3 separate regions of the Homo sapiens genome follow, and all the other regions are linked to region 2. The links are contacts of gene promoters, found by promoter capture Hi-C in blood cells and fetal thymus (Javierre and others, 2016). All regions are on one chromosome and are shown on one strand. The core of a region is centred on a gene start or on the middle of the fragment in contact, and the rest is flanking DNA. Distances in the headings are between cores, read along the strand shown.

Evidence for each region. Contacts are between HindIII fragments. The CHiCAGO score rates a contact against its expected background, and 5 or more counts as called.
Region 1: the fragment with the promoter of RLN1 here is called in contact with a fragment that was not itself captured in region 2 in 4 of 17 cell types (non-activated CD4 T cells, activated CD4 T cells, naive CD4 T cells and 1 more); the score reaches 8.2 in non-activated CD4 T cells.
Region 3: a contact is called between the fragment with the promoter of INSL4 here and a fragment that was not itself captured in region 2, in 8 of 17 cell types (activated CD4 T cells, endothelial precursors, naive CD4 T cells and 5 more). The highest score is 11.1, in activated CD4 T cells.

Annotation. Positions count from the first base shown.
Region 1 is chr9:5,338,598-5,341,297 of GRCh38, forward strand. RLN1 (relaxin 1) reads right to left here and starts at 1,279. Exons shown (of 2, transcript NM_006911.4): 1 at 939-1,279. The coding sequence starts at 1,149. It also overlaps a transcript of RLN2 not described here. The HindIII fragment of the contact is 10,294 bases long and covers 1-2,700 here.
Region 2 is chr9:5,603,297-5,605,996 of GRCh38, forward strand. The region is part of intron 1 of INCR1 (interferon stimulated noncoding RNA 1); the gene reads right to left. Among named protein-coding and RNA genes, the nearest start is that of RIC1, 24 kb to the right of the region's middle. The HindIII fragment of the contact is 704 bases long and covers 1,095-1,798 here.
Region 3 is chr9:5,230,106-5,232,805 of GRCh38, forward strand. INSL4 (insulin like 4) reads left to right here and starts at 1,314. Exons shown (of 2, transcript NM_002195.2): 1 at 1,314-1,614. The coding sequence starts at 1,419. RefSeq lists a promoter at 591-1,408. The HindIII fragment of the contact is 5,637 bases long and covers 943-2,700 here.

The sequences.
Region 1 (2,700 bases), core at 29-2,528, 260 kb before region 2:
ACTGCTACTTTATAAATACTAAAATATTTTTAAAAGCCATTTCAGATTGAGCTGTACTCAACTCTAAGAGCTTGCCTTTAAAGCAAACCCACTGCAGCTTCCAAATGCTTGAAAGCATCAGTAGGGTCTTCAGCTATGATGGTCTGAACGGCCTGCTTTCCTTGTCTCTGGTCCTCTTGAGTTTCTCCTAAAGGCATTCAAGCCTTTCCTTTCTCTTCCATCCCCTGCCTCACAAATGAACTTCAATACCCAGATCAAAGAAGCGGGAGGTCAGACTCTTTCCTTTGGGATTTTCTGTTTGTTTATTTTAAAGAACGTTTCCAATGGCAAAGGCCACAGCCCAACTTCTGGACTAGGAGAGTCATTAAGTGTAAGGCCCTTCCTGTCTTCCCATCACGGGACCCTCACAGAGACCTCAGAGTGTTGCCCCGTCCTACAGGCGCGCAAACAGGCTTGATAACTAGCGCGCCGCCTCAGTGTTTGTCCCCTCTCCTCTCTATCCGAGAAGCCCTGTTCAGGTGCCCCCACCAGCACGCCCGCTGTCTGGCCGCCTGGCTTTCCTGTGGGGTGCAGGAGTGCGCCCGGCCTCCTGCGGGTCTCCGGGCGGCGTCACCTCCTCTGAGGCTTCCCCTCCCTTTCCACCCCGTCGCTCTGACTGCCTTACGGAAAGGGCACCAAGGAACTCTCGGGTGAAGCAGCTTCCTGTTCTCAGTGCTTTCCCTCCGTCCGGTGAGATTCCCAGTGAGACTGTTTGAATAAAATCACCTGGCAAAGGAAAAGCCCAAACTTTAGGGACCAGCCACGGCTGAGTAGGGGCTGAGCGGTGGCAGCCAATGAGATCTCGAGTCGGACGTGCAGGCCGCCGTTCCAATTGGGCGGCCGCCCCAGAGTAACCAATGGGAAGCGCGGGAAGGCCGGGAGGGGGCGGGAGCTCTCACCTGCCACTGGTCTAGGTGTCTGAGGAGCATCTTCCTGGCTCAGAGACCTTTTGCTCCAGGTGCTCATGCCGCAAATGGCAATCTGCGCGCGAACTAATTCGCGGCCGCATAATTTAATAACATCGTCCTTCCATTTGGCCGCGACTGCTCTGGAAAATTGGTTCAGTAGTAAACAGAATTCTAGCAGGTGGAACAAGAACAGGCGAGGCATCCTGGGCCTGGTCTCTCCTGGAGGTCTGGGTGTTGCAGCCTTTCAGGACTGCGGCTGCTGTGGCCTACACACCTGGGCCTGTGTGCCTGTCCCGGGCTTTAGGCTGCTTTCCCTACCCGGCTCAACCAGTCTTTAGTATGGGCTATCACTCAGCTTTTAAGGCAAGGTTGCCAGCTCCACCCCTTTCCCACACCCCTCCACAGAATTTTCTCCTTCAGCTCTTGTTCTGCCTCTCCGCCCTTCCTTCATTTGCCCATTCCTCTGTCCTTGGCCCTTTTACAGTTTTGTTTTTCGCTCTTTTGTTACCCTGAAACAACTTTGTATACTTAGGTAAAGTTATTTTAGATATGAAGCCTTTCTTTTTACATACACAGAAATAAAATTGAGATCGCCAATATTCTTACAACCCAGTTTTCCAGAGTGAACATTTGCCAAAAACCCTTCTAACCTAAATAGGATTATAGATTACCTTATAAATTGGATTAATTAGTATAATGTTGGGCATATCAATCCATAAAAATATAATGGATGAATGAATAAATTGTTGATGAGAGGGAAAACTGATGACTTTTAATCTGAATCCAGGTAAAAAGATTAAAATCCCCAGTAACATCATTTTAGGCTTGTGCAGTAATGTCTTTAATTTACAAAACAATTTCTCCATTGGACTTTCCTTCCACTCCTGTGGGAGAAGTTTGATTGTAACTAGTTGTCTAAATATTTTAATTTAAAATTCTAGTCTATGTCTCTGGAGACTGGAGAACACACCACACACACAGAGAGAGAGAAAGAGAGAGAGAAAAGAAGAAGAGAAAGAAGAAGGGGAAAAAAAGCAGTGGACATCCCACATTCCCAGAAATAATATTTTGATAACAAATTACAGCACAAGGATATGTTCATTTGTTTACTGTATTTTGTGTTTGCTGCACCTGGTTAGAGGTGATTCTTTTTTTATTACCACCACCTAATTTAGCATTTTAAAGATCCACACAGTTCTAGATAATATGGTTAGTAGACGACCCTTCTACCTGTAAATTTTTAGTACAAATAGGTTCATTTTTAAAAATAACTTACTTGCTTGTGTTCATAATATACTCAGATTAGTTCAGCTCCATCAGATAAACTGGAGACATGCAGGACGTTATGGTAGCTTTGAAATAAAATAATAACAATCTCTTAGTTACAAACATAACTATGGAATCAAGTAATTCTAATTTCTAGATTGCTGGTGATTTCAGTAGGCCCACTTAACATTGGTCAAATGCCAAGCAATGTGTAATTCTTCAAAAAATACCTGACCAAAGCTATGAGATGGTTAGAGGCAATTAATGATTTTAAATGGATTTTCACTAAAACACACAGTTTGAGAAAGGCCTCTCAAAACTGAGGTTTGAAAATATTTTCGTGGGTTAACAGTCCTTGTAAAAACAATCCACGTGCTAGGCTGTACTCCAAATTAATTGCTCATTAAAAATGTAAATTTCCAGAGTTTTTTGTTTGTTTTTGGGTGATTTTTTTGAGACAGAATTTGGCTCTTGTCACCCAGGCTGG
Region 2 (2,700 bases), core at 197-2,696:
GCTAGCAGATGAATGTGAATTCATTGCAGTGGATTTTTTATTCAGATACAGAATATTCGGTGCAATTTTTCTAAGTCACTATAGTCAATTTTCAGATAACAAAAAGTCCAATAACTTCTAAAATAGAAGAGAGAAAAATGGAAAAAGAAAACAAACTTACAAACAAAAGCCCAACCCCAATCAACTGAGTAGAGAGCAATAAAGGAAAAGGGGGAAAGCCAAATAAAAGTTGGACAAATAAAAATTAAAAGTGTGGTGGTAGAAAATGTCTAGATATATTAATAATTATAATAAATATAAATCTAAACTTTATAGTAAAAGACAGATTGGGGAACAAACAAACAAAAAACCTCTAACTACATGCTCTTTCAAAAGAAAAACCTAAAACTTAAGACACAAAATGGTTGAAAGATGTAGCAGGAAAACAGTAACCAAAAAAACAGAAGTGTATATTAAAAATCACACAAAATAGACTGATGAAAATAGGTATCGTTAGAGTTAGAGAGGGACCACTACTTGATTTTTATAAACGTTCCAATTGTCAGTGATATAATAACTTCAAAGTTTTACACCTAGAAAAATTGTTTCAAATATATAAAGCAAATATTTACTGAACTACAAAGAGAAATTGCCAATGAGAGCTTTCAATATATCTCTCTCAATTACCAACAGACCACCCAAAGCAAAGATATTAAAAATATGGAAGATCTGAACAACACAATTAATAACAATCAAATAGATAAAAATTCTGCATCCAACAGTTGGCAAATGCACTTATTTTTCTTAAATATCATAGTGCAATTACAAAAATTGTCCATTTATTAGACCATATGGCAAGTCTCACAAAATTATAACACAGTCCTCATTCTCTGTGCGCAAAGTAATTAAGTTAGAGGCAATAACAAAAGATAAATCTATAAAAGTTCTTATATATTGAAAAATGTGGAAACACACTTGTAGGTAATTCATGTGTCAAAGAAAAAATTATGGAAGAAATGTAAAAATCCTAAAAGCCGAATGATAATGAAAATATCACCTACCATGTTCTGTAAAACAGTCAAAGTCATTCTCTAAGGACAATTTATTAATTTGAAAGCTTGTTTCAGACAAGAAGAAAGGTTAAAAATTAATGAGCTTTGTGTTCAACTCAAGAAATTAGGAGGAAAAATAGAAAAACAATCAAAGTAGGAGGAAATAGATAACAGAGATAAAAACAGAGGTTCAGAAAAAAGTAAACAAAGCTACAAAAAAAGAATCCACAAAATTAAAAGTTTTATTTTATAAACAGAACAATCTCTGCTGAGATTGAGCGAGGAAAAAAAAAGAAGGCACAAATAAGCAATATTAGAATAAAAAGGGACCTAATCACAGACAAGGCAAAGATTTTTTTAGATGAGCTACTCTGAATCAATTTAGGCCACATATTCAAAAACTTAGGTGAAATGGGCAAATTCCTAGAAAACTATAATTTACCAAAACTTACTCAAAAACAGAGAACCTGAATTGTTTTGTATCTACCAAAGAAATGCAATCAATATTTTTAAATCTTCCCACAAAGAAAATATTTAGTTCAGATATGTTTACAAATTACTTACACCTAGGTTTCAAGAACGAGATCATTCCAATCTTTAAAAATGTCCTATAAAACAGAAAAAGAGGGACTATGACACAATTCACTCAATGATATTAACGTAACCTTGATAGCAAAACCAAAGAAGGACAGGACAATAAAGAAACCTTTTGAACCAATCTCACTCATAAACATAGCTACAAATTCAAATTAAATACTAATGAAACAAGCTTAGGAGTTTATTTCAAATAGATAATACATCATAAACAAGTTGAGTTTAACCAGAAATGCAAGCGCAGTTAAACATTAGGAAATAAAAAATATGGCTAGGCATGGTGGCTCACACCTGTAGCCCCAGTGCCTTGAGAGGCCAAGGTGGGTGAATTACTTGAGCCCAAGAGTTAGAGACCAACCGGGGCAACATGGTAAAACCCCGTCTCTACCAAAAAAAATACAAAAATTAGCCAGGCTTGGTAGCACATGCCTGTAGTCCCAGCTACTTGGGAGGCTGAGGTGAGAGAATCACTTGAGCCTGGAAGTGAAGGTTACAGTGAGCCAAGATGGCACCACTGCCCTCCAGCCTGGGCAACAGAGCAAGACCCTGTCTCAAAATAATAATAATAATAATAATAAAGAAAAGAAAATATAAAAATATAATTCATTGGCCAGGCACAGTGGCTCATGCCTGAAATCCCAGCACTTTGGGAGGCCAAGGCAGGTAAATCACCTGAGGTCAGGAGTTTGAGACCAGCCTGACCAACATGGTGAAACCCTTTCTCTGCTAAAAATACAAAAATTAGCCAGGTGTGGTGGCACACACCTGTAATCCCAGCTACTCGGGAGGCTGAGGCACGAGAATCGCTTGAATCCAGGAGGCAGAGTTTGCAGCGAGCTGAGATCGCACCATTGCACTCCAGCCTAGGCAGCAAGAGTGAAACACCATCTCAAAAACCAAACAAACAAACAAACAAACAAAAATATATATATATATGTAAAATTTACCGCATTAACAGACTACAGGGGAAAAATATGATAATCTCAAAAGATGCAGCAGATAATGAGCAGACTTATTAAAATCAGGAACAAGACTTAGAAGTCCTATTTACTTCTACTCAACATTATAGTGGATT
Region 3 (2,700 bases), core at 64-2,563, 370 kb before region 2:
CCCTAGCATTCTGATAGCAATTAAACTGTGACTGGGAGCATAAACATATCTGTGTCACATTTTTACCTTGGAATCAATCAATACATAGTTGGGATGAGGTGAAACAACACCTCTGGGGAAACTTTCATGACAATTTAACAGCAGACGTAAAGCAACTTAAAACTAAAATTTTAGAATCCCTTCACATGATAGATCTACATACTCAACAAACAGCCATATGGAAAGGTGTGCAAGATCATTTCTCCTGGTTATACCCCCGATCCTGGGGGTCACACTTTGACTGGAAAGGAATGTTACTAATTATACTCATGATTGTCTTACGTTATTTGCTAATTCTATGATGCAAAGCCGGAATAAAAGCAAAACCTAACAAACCTGTTGCTGCACACATCTGTACTCTTAAGTCAACAGAACCCGATGCAAAGAACAGAAAGGGGGGAGATGTGAGAGTTCAGTCAGGCTGGTGGGAAAATTTTTTCAGATAGTTATAAGAAAAAGACGCAAACCTTTTTGAAACGCCGGAGGGGTTTGTATAAGCTCCAGTAATAGATCAGGCTGAAGGCAGCCTAATCCTTACCTTGAGTTAATAGCTTAAGGCACAGATACAAATGAATGTAGTTTATCTAGTTTGTTTACTCATGTGGTCCTAAGACTAATCTTTGATCAACCGCGGGTGCATAATTGCTCTCTACTCGGGAGGTTGGCAATGTCAATTACCTTCTAGTGGTGTTTACTCAAGACCTTCGTCATTTAATCTATGCTGAATAAATGTGAGCTTTGCTGGCTGATCGGGGCCACGGCTGCAACTCTTTACAGCACCCTCCTTGGTGTCTGTAGGTGGCCCGGACCCTCAGCTGGACTGACAGGCAAACTATCTGTGTCAGTGTATGTTATTCATCCGTCGTTGGGTCAGGGTCTGTGGGACAGACCCCCGCAATTAAAAGCTTATATGCCAAATGTTAACTAAGATAATTTCTAGCCAATGAGCTTACAGGTCAGTTCTATTTTTATTTCATCTAAGCAAAGGACATTAAAAATTACCATTATTTTAGTAAGCATAAAAATAGTATTACAGGAGGAAAGTTAAGAAAAAGAAGTAGAACAACCAAATTCAAAACAAGCAAAGTGCAGCAGCACATTGGGAGCAAAGAGGGATATGAGAGTGTGGGTAGGGCAAGTAGGGAGACTAAATAAGAACTGAGGGAGAAAGTTCCTTGTAGGTGGGTGGGAAAGGGGTGGAACTGACACCATTGACGCAAAAGCTGAGTAATAGCCCTAAGCAAATAAATGCCTGATGAAGGCATGCAGAAAGCAGTCTGGAGCCCAGAAGGGACACACCAGCACAGTCTGGTAGGCTACAGCAGCAAGTCTCTAAAGAAAGGCTGAGAACACCCAGAACAGGAGAGTTCAGGTCCAGGATGGCCAGCCTGTTCCGGTCCTATCTGCCAGCAATCTGGCTGCTGCTGAGCCAACTCCTTAGAGAAAGCCTAGCAGCAGAGCTGAGGGGATGTGGTCCCCGATTTGGAAAACACTTGCTGTCATATTGCCCCATGCCTGAGAAGACATTCACCACCACCCCAGGAGGGTGGCTGCTGGAATCTGGACGTCCCAAAGGTGAGAGCCCTGGACTACCAAACAATCAGAATGAGGCCTGAAAAAACAGGCTCCAGATCTCATTGACTGCCTGTAGTCAACTCAGACTCTACTGTGGCTAGTGCCTACAAGTTTGTGGTTTTTCATTGTAATGTGCTTTTATTAAAAGGGTCTCACCAGAAATCTCATGGGAAGTTGGGGGTAGAGGAGAAGCTGCAGGAAAAACAGAAGAACAGCCTCACCTTGGAGGCTCTTGGTGCCTTTCCCACCTGGCAGCCAGAGATACAGGGTGGAGAAAACAGGGAATCCTCAGAGAAGGTGACTATTCTCAAACACCAGCAGGAGGTGAGGTGTACTCCCAGACCCCCAGGAAAGCTGGGCAGGCCAGAAAACAGGTGTGATTGCAATGAGATGCCTGGGCCAGGCATCTTCAATTAAGAAGAAAGGGGACAAACAGTGAGGTGATGAGCTGATTATCATTTCTGTTTATGCACCTATTGGCCTAGGGGCAGCACACTGAGACCTCTGTTAGGTTCCTGGAATGTGAGATAAAGGGGGCTTAGATTTAATAACTCTCATCCTTTGTCATTAAGCTGGGCAGTGGTCTATGTCACCAAAAACGTCCTCTTACAAAAAAGTTTTTTTTAATGCACACCAACAGAGCACCTTGCCTCCCATTTCTTTGAATCTACTCTTGTAGTGTGTTGAGAGAGATGAGATGAAGAGAAAGAAAGTGGCCTGGATGACTAGAGGGGAAATTGAAGGGGACCAGAGACAAGGGAATTTCACTGTTCAGACCATCATAGCTGATTTGATTAGTGTTTTCAACATTTGAGACTGCAAAGCATTTTCTTTAAAAGCAAGATTTCAGAATTGAGGAAAGTTCAATACCAGGATAGTTTTCAAACTTTACCAAGTAACAAGGTATTCATAAAGATAAATTGCCAGCTAAGTTAAAACTAGCAGGGGCAGTTTCGAAAAGAGATAGAGGCTACTATATTCTGTCTAATAGGTCGTATTAAGTTCTGAAAAGCTAAGTTAAATTACTAAACATTGTTTTACATTTAATACAAATGACACAGGTTTTGAACCAGCAATGTGTGACTC